Regions from separate parts of the Homo sapiens genome. Here region 1 is linked to region 2. Evidence: promoter capture Hi-C in human tissues and cell types (Jung and others, 2019). All regions are on one chromosome and are shown on one strand. The core of a region is centred on a gene start or on the middle of the fragment in contact, and the rest is flanking DNA. Distances in the headings are between cores, read along the strand shown. Region 1 overlaps ISM1 (isthmin 1). Region 2 holds the start of TASP1 (taspase 1).

Region 1 (4,954 bases), core at 1,525-4,024, 360 kb before region 2:
GAAGTTACTGTTTGGTTTACCCAAAGTCACATGGCAGTAAATAGTAGTTATAGGGCTCAAATCCAGGCTCTCAGACTCCCAACCCACATTCAGAGGCAAACTCCTAATTTTGAATGTTGTTTGTACCTTTCTCTGTTTCCTCCCAAAGATGGTCCCCATGATGGTTGAGAGAGGCTCATCCCCCGGGCAACCCAGCCCCTATCCAACTCTCGTCCTCATATGCCTGCTTCCATATTTTTTTTAAAGATGGCCTCACTCAGTCACCCAGGTTAGAATACAATGGCACGATCATAGCTTACTGCATGCAGCCCCTACCTCCCAGGCTCAAGCGATCCTCCCACCTCAGCCTCCCGAGTAGCTGGAACTTCAAGTGTGTGCCCCCACATCCAGCTCATTTTTTAATTTTTTGTAGAAACAGGGTTTTGCCATATCGCTCAGGCTGGGCTCAAACTCCTGGGCTCAAGCGATCCCCCTGCCTCAGCCTGCCAAAGTGCTGGGATTACAAGTATGAGCCACCACAGCCAGCCCATACTTGTAAGCTTTGCTTCCAATTCTTTCTATTTGTATAGGTGCACCTTTTCTGTACTTTTTCCTCTCTGGACCAAATGCCAATTTGCTTACATAGCAGAAAGTTCCTGAACTTGGACTCAGACCAATTGATCCTTCATTAACTGCCTCTCTCTCCACAGACTAACACCCTCTGCATGATACGGTTTTAGATCAGGTTTCGTTGACCTGAGTTGTTTTGCTCTTAACACCAGCATCATGGGAGCACGCAAATCTCACTGAGAACACTTGGAATACCAACCCCCGCTGTATATAAAATGCTGCATTAGGTTATAGGAAATTGAAAAATGTAAGACCTGTTCCCTCCAATAAATTAGATCTGTGTGAAGATCCCAGCTACCACATAAAACAGTGCTGGAGGGATCATGAAGACAGAGGAGGAAAAGCACTGTGTCCCAAGGGGGTGGATCTCAATAGGTGGAAAGAAGTCGGACAGGCTCTATTGATGGCACAGAGTGACAAATATTTTGGAGGTCACTCTTTGACAACCCATGCACAGAAATCACTACAAGCCCCAGTTAAAATTTCTGGTGAGTCTTGTATTGTTTTAATTGATAAATTGGAAAAACAGGCCTTTGGCTCCAATGGCCCCTCTCCAGGGACTGGCCACGTGGTGTGATAAAGAGCAATGGAACCCTTTGGAATAGGTGCAGATTGGCAAGGAAGGCACTGACTTCATACCGTTGCTCAACCTTGTTTCCTATCATGGCTCATCCATGTGTTTATAGATGTTCTGGTTCCAGAATCAGGCAGTTCTCATCCCAAGGGTGTTTAGGCCATGCCCAAAACAATCTGAAGCCTGCTGTGGCTAGCGCTTTTTCCCAGAGGTGGGAATGTCACTTGGGGCATAATGCTGAGGACTGAGCTATAATATCAGTGTAATTGATTTAAGAATTACTAACGCAAAGTCATAGGAAAATGCCTGGATGCGGGAGAACGGAAGGCTGCCGGGGACTGTTCCTTCATTGGAAAGTTATTGGCTGCTTTGTGCTTGAACCCAATTTCAGACAGAACTTCTTGGGATCCCCTTTCTGTCTTCTAGATAAATCCATCTGTCTGAAAATTCCCATTCCCTACCTAGACCTCACTTGGGTCTTTTTTATTTTATTTTATTTTATTTTATTTTATTTTATTTTGACAAGGTCTTTCTTTGTCACCTATGCTACGGTACAGTTGTGCAATCATGGCTTGTTGAGGCCTTGAACTCCTGGGCTCAAGTGATCCTCCTACCTCAGCCTCCTGAGTAGCTGGGACTACAGGTGTGAGCCACCATGCCTAGCTAATCTTTTTTATTTTTTGAAGAGACCAGGCCTCACTGTGTTGCCCAGGCTGGTCTCAAACTCCTGGCCTCAAGTAATTTTCCTGCCTCAGCCTCTCAAAATGCGGGGATTATAGACATGAGTCACTGCAACTGACCTGTCTTTTAAAAATATTACTTAAATATTAGGGAAAAGCTATAGCGTAAAGGCTGAAAGGCAGTTGGGACTCCCAGAGCTGGGAACCCCAGTTACCCTTTGTACAGCAAAGATCACCGTAACTCCCAAGAATAAAGGTTTACCATAGCTCCAGATGTGAATGTTATTGGCCAAATGGATTAAAAATTAATGCGGCTCCAGCCTAGCTACTGTCAAAGTCAACAAATCAAAAAGAGTAAGCCAACAATACATTTTTGCCTACTGCCCAGTCAAGTTATTCTATTTCTGCTCTATACAATCCCTATCGGTTAATTTTCTGTGAGCAATACAGAGGGGTGGAGGGTGGCCAGCATTTTATTGATCTGATGACGTTTTGGCCCTGAAGAAAATAAAATTGTGGTGCGTTTCTGGCCTTCTGTTTGTGGAAGACCACAAAATGTTAGTATTGGTCACTCAGAAAGATGTTCAAAGAAAGAATAAAACAACTGCTACCCCTGGGAGCCCCCGCCTTCTGTTGGCGTGTAATTGTGTGTGTGTGTGTGTGTATGTGTGCATGTGCATGCACACAAACACACCCACACACCACACAGCACTAGCTGCTGCAGCCCCATGCACCACTGCACTTGTGTAAACCAGTTCCCTGGTGGTCCTTTAAAACATGAGGTGCTTTCTACAAGGAGGTGATGGTTTCCGTGTTGGCAGCCCTCACCCCTTCCTCAGAGCACTGTTCTTTTGTTGAAATCCACTGGTTTGACACAGGGCCGATTCAGCCCAGCAGACAGCCCTGCTGGTCCCTGACGGTCCCTGCCGGCCCCGTCAAAGCATTCCCTCTCCCTGGGTAGCAGAGTGAAGTCAGGTGAGGGGCCCTTCAGTAGGTCAGCTTCCGCTGCCAGGGCTCCTGGCCTCATCTGCCCCTTCCCCTGGCAACCTGCCTTTGCCCCCATCTGGTTCTCCCTAGCTGGAGCCTGGGAGCTGAATGGGAACTTGATACCCGCCTTCCCCTCCGCACCTCCCCACCCCTTCAGGCTCTGGAAGTGTTTCCCACGCTCCAGGGCTAAGGAAACAGCCTGCACCTTTCCAAAGTGACATCGCTAAGCCCATGCAAGAGTCCACGTCCCGCCCCCTCTCCACTCCCCGCCCCCCCCGCGCCCGGCCCCCGGGCCTCTTGACTTTCAGGATAGGAAATCCTTCTAAAAGCCCCAACACCTGCTTCTGCAGAGCATTTTAACTCCCAGAAGTCAGGCAGCCTCGGTCCCAAGTGAATCAGACAATTCTATTTTAAGACTGGCTTCAAGCTGTGGAAGTGAGGAGGGGAAGAAAATGCGCAAAATAGAACAAAAATGGTCTCAGACTACTAAACTGAGTCTCCATATGAAATTTAAAACAATATAAGAGGTTGGGTTTTATCAAAAACAAAAATCATTCAGGAAAGAAAGTAAATCCCCCAGAACAAGTTAGACTTTGGTATCCTTGGCTGGGTTTTCAGTCTGCAGCTGATAGTCAGATATCAGAGACAAAAATCTCTGAAATAAATGCACTGTTAGGCTTACTACATTGGTTCATTACTACACTAGCTATTCACAACCAAAATATTCTCTTTTCTGGATCAAGTTGAGATTAGTATTCATTTCAACCCATATATTTATTTCTTTTCTCCCATTAAGACGGACTTAAAAATAGTCATGTAAAGGCCTTTTTTTCCTTGCACAGACATATTAACATGGCCACAGGCCTCTTGAGCGCCACAAGATACAATCAGATGAGTTGGCCAGGGTTACAGTTGTACGTGCTTCTACTTTTGATTTTGCCTCCTCCTTTTTCTCTAAAATACTTTTAGAGGAATGGCAGGTCTGGCTGGATAAGAATCAAGAAATTTCTCTGCCCAAGACATGGACCCATGCCCCTATAGAGACAAGCCTGTTCGGCTCAGATTCTCATGGGGTACTGCTGCCAATATATGGAGGCAGATTGGCTTGTGTTTGGGATCAGGCACCACCATTTAGTCAGCCAGACTTGACCTCCGTAGCCCCATGCGGGTTACTGGATGTCTTTGTGCCTCAGTTTCCTTGTCTATAAAATTGGAATGACAATACTACATATGAGCAGCTATGTAGTATAATACTATATATAAGTGTGATTATCTGTGAGGATTCAATGAGATCATCCATATGAAGTGCTTAGCACAGGGCCCAGTATAGGATAAGCTTCCTAGAACGGATAGATGCTCGTTGGTGATGATATTGGAGATGAAGATGACAAAGGAAATGTACAAAAAATTAATTGGGAATCAGAAGAACTGGTTCAGAGACCAACACTACATCTTCCTTGCTGTTTACCTCGGGACCTTGAATTCTCCAAGCCAGTTTCCGTCCCTGAAAATTGAGTCTAAGTTGTGTAGAAGGGACAGTAATGCCTAGATTGGCGTGCTGCAAGTCTCAAAGCAGTAACTACAGTTAGCTGGGGTTGCCACCCTTGTTCTTAGAGCATCAGCAGGTGTGAGAAGAGGGAATTAGATATCTTCCTAGTCCATTTTGTGTTCTTTCCATGGCAGTTATCGAGGAAGAAGGGGTAGAATAATCTGGATTTAAAACCCTTGTTGGAGACAGGTCCTTCAATGCTCTGTGCTCCTGAGGAAATCCTTTTCCTCTCTGGAAAATACCTGCCCACTCCCACCAGTTTCCACAGCTCACAAGGCTTAGAGGACCAACAAGCAAGAAGGCTTTCCTGAGTTTGAAGAGCATGGCCTCTGTATTCTCAGTGGCGTTGGTTTATTATCACCTAGACTGAGAATGGTGTGGGTTTCCCTATGGGAAGTGCATTTCCGAGCAAGAATCAAGAGTTTGCTTCTAGTCAATGTATTAATTTTCAAGAGAAGGAAAGCTGATCAAGGTGCATTGGAACTTTTCCTCGTTTCCTAAGACAGAATTATCGAAATGGGCACTTCTTTTGGACTCTCTTTCTTGGAGCTGGGG
Region 2 (5,413 bases), core at 1,231-3,730:
ACCCAGCCTTGTGTTGTTGCTTTTAACATCGTGATATTGAAGGTTTAATGCCTCATTAAATGAACTCCAGGACATACTTAAATTCATCTTCTAACCAGTAATTCCACTTCTGAGAAAACTTTCTACCAAAATAACTAAATAGAGAAAAGGTTTTATGCCTTTTATACCATGTTTAACACAGGATAATTTAGAATAACAAAAATCTGGGAGCAACCTAAATGTCCAATACAGAAAAACGGTTAAGAAAACAATAACCTACACTTTTATGATCAACTGATTTTCAACAAGAGTGTTGAAATGGTTTCTACCATTCAATGGAGGAAAGGACAGTCCTTTCATCAAATGATGCTAGAACTGGATAGCCACATGCAATAGAATGAAACTGAACTCCTACCTCACATCATACAGAAAAATTAACTCTAAATATCCTCCCTATTGCACTTGACAAGTCTTTGAAAAAAAAATTCTAAGTAGATAAAGGACACCATTCAAGAAAGTAAAAGGACAACCCATAAAATGGGAGAAAACGCAAGAAAATATTGCAAATCATGTATCTGGAAAGGGACTTACATTTAGAATATAGAAAGAACTCATACAACTTTAATATAAGACAATTCAATTTAAAAATGGGCAAAGGAATTAAATGGACATTTCTCCAAAGATATACAAAGGGTCAATAAGCACATTAAAAGATGCTCAACATTATTAGCCATCAGGGAAATGCAAATCAACACTACAATGAGCTACCACTTTATAAGCACTAAGACTGCTATAACCAAAAAGAAAGATAAGTGCTCCCAAGGATATGAAAAAATCAGAACCCTTATAACCTGCTGGTGGGAATGTAAAATGGTGCAACCAGTTTGGAAAACATTTGGCACTCACTCAAAAAGTTAAACATAGAGTTACCATATGCCCACCAATTCCACTTCTAGGTATATACTCAAGAGAACTGAAAACGTATGTCCATACAAAAACTTGTACACAGATGTTTATAGCAGAATTATTCAAAATAGCCAAAAAGTAGAAACAACCTAAATGTCCATCGACCGATGATGGTTAAGCAAAATGTGGCATATTCACACAATGGAACATTACCCATCCATAAAACAGAATGAAATACTGATACACAGACATTGATGAACCTTGAAAACATACTAACTGAAAGACACCAGACAAGTGAGGCCATATATTCTATGATTCCATTTATATGAAATGCCAGTATAGGAAAATCCATAGATACAGAAAGTAGATTAGTGGTTACAAGGCCTGGGAGAGAAAGCAGAGAATCTAATGGGGAGTGACTGTCATGAGTATAGGATTTCTTTTGGGGGTGATGAAAATGTTCTGAAAGTAGATAGTGGTGATGGGTGCACAACTTTGCGATATGAGAAAAAGCACTGAAATTTACAATTTTAAAGAATAAATTTTATGGTGCATGAATACCTTAATAAGACTTTCTCAAGAGGAAAAAAGACAATCTATCCGTGCAATGAACACAATGTATGTAACTATGCCTCTTAGTTATAACCGTATTTTACACGCATACATTATGATCACAAATAGGTTAATATGAATAAAATATTAGAAAAAAGATCAAAATGCTGGGTTGGCAGAACTATAGGTGATCTCTTCATAACTATTTCTGCATTTTCCAGATGTTCCTTAGTAAGCACTGCTTTTTGTAAGTGGTGGGGAAAAGTTTTATTTACAACAAAAAAGATAAATTATTAAACTCCTAAGAATATAAGTAAAAATTCCTTCGCTAATAAAGAATAATAATAATTCAGCAATCTAATGGCCCCTAACACACCTTTCCTTCCCCTCCCCTACAGAAGCCAGGAAAGTTGAACTCTCTCCTTCCGGAAACACGATACCCTCGATTTCCAGGACATCTCTAGCTCCTGCTTTCCCCCCCTCCTCTCCAGCTGCTCCATCTTCTCGGTCCTTTCCTCCTCCTCTTCTTCCTCCTCCTCCTCCCCCTGAGTAGTAAGTGCTAACGACCCGCAGGACTCTCATCAGGCCTCTATTACTAAGTAAGGGGCTGCCTTACCCCCAACCCGCCACCCAGGACAAGGCGCACATTCTCGGCTGTCTGCGAACCTCGGACTCTGAGACATCTCCAGCCTGAGACTGCAAAGTGGGTGAAGAACTGCGAGAACTCCCCACATACAGACAGTACTTCCCCGGTGGCCACGAGGACGCCAAGCCGGAGATGAGGCTGGGAAGGGGGACGACGGGGCCGCCTAGAGCGACCAAGACTAGGGAACTAGGGACATCCTGGCCCCCTCCTCTAGCCCCGCCCGGGGCAAGGGGTGTCCTGCGCGCCGCCCCCTCTCGGACCCGGAGAGGACGTCCCAGCTAGCGTACGGGGCCCACACACAGAGGCAGCAGCGCGGAGGCGGCAGCGGCGCGGACAGCGTGGGAAAGAGGGACACTCACCCGCTTCAGCCCCGAGCCTTCACTGCACCGGAAGTAGTCACCCGCCCGTTGCCAGGGTGAGGAAGCGGGGCTGACATCAAGTCTCCCCATTGGTCATTCGGGGTACCACGTGGTCGGAAGCAGCCTCCCACAAGCGGCTCTGACTCCGCCCTCCGCTTCGGAGCGGCTCACCTGGCCTCAGAGGTGCAGCGCTAACTCCACCTGGGGCTTCGTTCTGAGCTGCGCATGCGCTATTGCTTATCTCTACCCACCCCGCCCCTGAATAAGCCCGCAGGATGTGATTATATCTGAGTGGTTGATTGACTAATACTGTGATGAGAAATGAAATTAAACTGACCATCATTTTATCTAGGTGTCGCTTAAGAGTTACTTTCTTTCAATCCTTAGAGCACTGTTAGACGGTAGGGAAAACTAAGGTTCAGCCTGCATTGCTTGTAGGAGTTGGGGCACGAGCCTTGCCCAGGGGGAAGGAGTGTAGGCGGTCTTTTATCGGCTAGGATGTAAGACCGAAACCCAGTCATGGGTTTTGATGACCCATGACTGATGGATTTTCCTTATACTTCCACCAAAACATCACGTCGAACTGAATGTAAAGGCAGAAATGAGAATCTAACTGGCTTCTTTAAGCCAGCTATAGAGGAATTTACACTAATGCAAAAGATAACACTTTTCTTACCACATTTTTTTGTTTTTGGAAAATATTTATTCTTCATTAAAATGTCTTAATTATATTAACACATAATGGTTTATTATTGTTATTTTAAATAACTTTTTAACATTTCAGTTTTTTGTTGGTTTTTTTCTTTTTTTTTTGGAGATGGAGTTTCACTCTGTCAACCAGGCTGGAGTGCAATGGCACGATCTCGGCTCACTGCAACCTCTGCCTCCCGGGCTCAAGCGATTCTCCTGCCTCAGACTCCTGAGTAGCTGGGATTACAGGCGCTCGATACACACCCGACTAATTTTTTGTATTTTTAGTAGAGACGGGTTTTCACCATGTTTGCCATGCTGGTCTCGAACTCCTGACCTCAGGTGATCCTACTGCCTTGGCCTCCCAAAGTTCTGGGATTACTGGCGTGAGCCACCGCACCCAGCCACATTTCAGCTTTGTATTCAATTTTTAATATAGTAAATATTAATAGATGTAACCCACAGAAACAAAAGCTTTGGAGTGTTCTCTACTATTTTGGGGAGTATAAAGGTATGCTGAAACCAAAAAGTTCGAGAACCACTGATACCATTATTATAAATATAACCTATGTGGTTTTATTATGTAACTTGGGGCTTTTTTTCTTTCTCTTCTACCACTGACTTCTTAGGGAGGGGCAAGGGGAAGAAGTTTATTACATAGTAAGAATAACAGTTTATTACATAGCAATAGTAACTGAAACCGATTTTGTTACCTAGAAGTAGGATGGATATTATAACAAAACATAACATAATAACATCATAAAAGTAAAACGTGTGGCACTGGCTTTGGAACTAGGTGAAGCAGCAAGAGCAGGAAGGGATCCAAAGTATTAACAAGAGTCTAAAAGGACTTGAGGAAGCTGCCAATGAGGGCTTAAAGGGAGCTAAGGAAGATGTTATTGGAAGCTGGAGAAAATGGGGCCCTTGTTATATAGTGCCAGAAAGTTTGGCCCAGGCATTAGGAAGCAGACATAAACCATCCCCATTGTGACCTTTCTGAATTCCTCACCCGCAGAATCCATCAGCATAATAAAATAGTTGTTCTTTTGCACCTTTAAAGTGGATTTTTACACAGCAATATTAACTGGAACCAGCAGGAATAAAAGAAAGATGTTAAAGTTTTAAAAAGACATAGACATGCTCCCTTCCATTTCTTAGGCAACATTCTTCCTGGAATTTAACTACATTGTAATAATCATCTCCCAGTGCTGCTCTGTATACTTTTGTCTTGGGTATCACACCCAGATGCCACACAGGCCATCCTCTGGTAGGTGAATACTGCTCAAGTAAAAGTAACAAAATTCTTCGGACCCTTTTTTTTATTATTATTATTGAGGCAGAGTCTCACTCTGTTGCCCAGGCTAGAATGCAGTGGTGCGATCTCAGCTCACTGCAACCTCTGCCTCCCCGGTTCAAGTGATTCTCCTGCCTCAGCCTCCCCAGTGGCTGGGATTACAGGTGCCCGTGACCACGCCCGGCTAATTTTTGTCTTTTTAGTAAAGATGGGGTTTTGTCATGCTGGCCAGGCTGGTCTCGAGCTCCTGACCTTAGGTGATCCACCCATCTCGGCCTCCCAAAGTGCTGGGATTACAGGCATGAACCACCATGCCCAGCCCAGACCCAAGTTTTAACATTTTTAACCTGCATTGGGTACAGTAACAATGAGATCCTTTGAAATATTAATAACGAACAGTTGTAATATCTATTTGATTAACTCAACATGTTAAATTTGAAAGGAAAGTCTATACTAGTAAATCTCCTTCAGAAAAAATCTGGTTGCCTCCCTCTTCCTGTTCCCACCTCTCCCAAACCCGGAAAAGCAGCAAGCTGAGGAATTACTTCCTTTATCTCAAATAATCATGTCTGCTGCATCTTGATCTTTGTACTCTAAGTAAGCCCCCTCTGTCCTGGTTCCCTGGGGGTCTCCCTTTGTTTTGTATTCCTGGAAAACTATTGCTTTAACACATGTGTCAGAAATGTAGCAGAACAATAGTGATAGTTTTCAATTGTTGTGCCGCAAGTTAACACCAATTCACCTGCTTAAGACAACACAAATGTAATATTTCCGTTTCTGTGGATCAGGTGTCCAGGTCTCTGCTCAGATCTCAGAAGGCTGAAATCAAGGTGTCAGTCAGAGCTGCCATCTCATCGGATGCCCAGAGCGATTCTCCAAGCTCATTCAGGTGATTGGCAGAATTCAAATCCTTGCAGCTGTAGAGCTGGCCACTTTTGTCTTCTTCAAGGTCAGGAGGAGCAGTCCTCTCTGACTTTTCCACCTTGA

Evidence for each region. The method cuts DNA at HindIII sites, captures the fragments that hold promoters and counts their contacts. A contact is called where the count stands out against the background at its distance.
Region 1: a fragment that was not itself captured here is called in contact with the fragment with the promoter of TASP1 in region 2 in 1 of the 25 tissues and cell types used here (mesendoderm cells).

Annotation. Positions count from the first base shown.
Region 1 is chr20:13,271,552-13,276,505 of GRCh38, forward strand. The region is part of intron 2 of ISM1 (isthmin 1); the gene reads left to right. It also overlaps a transcript of TASP1 not described here. Among named protein-coding and RNA genes, the nearest start is that of ISM1-AS1, 34 kb to the left of the region's middle. The HindIII fragment of the contact is 5,313 bases long and covers 119-4,954 here.
Region 2 is chr20:13,636,452-13,641,864 of GRCh38, forward strand. TASP1 (taspase 1) reads right to left here and starts at 2,481. Exons shown (of 14, transcript NM_017714.3): 1 at 2,443-2,481. RefSeq lists enhancers at 1,838-2,338, 1,952-2,041 and a silencer at 2,232-2,381. The HindIII fragment of the contact is 12,335 bases long and covers 1-4,979 here.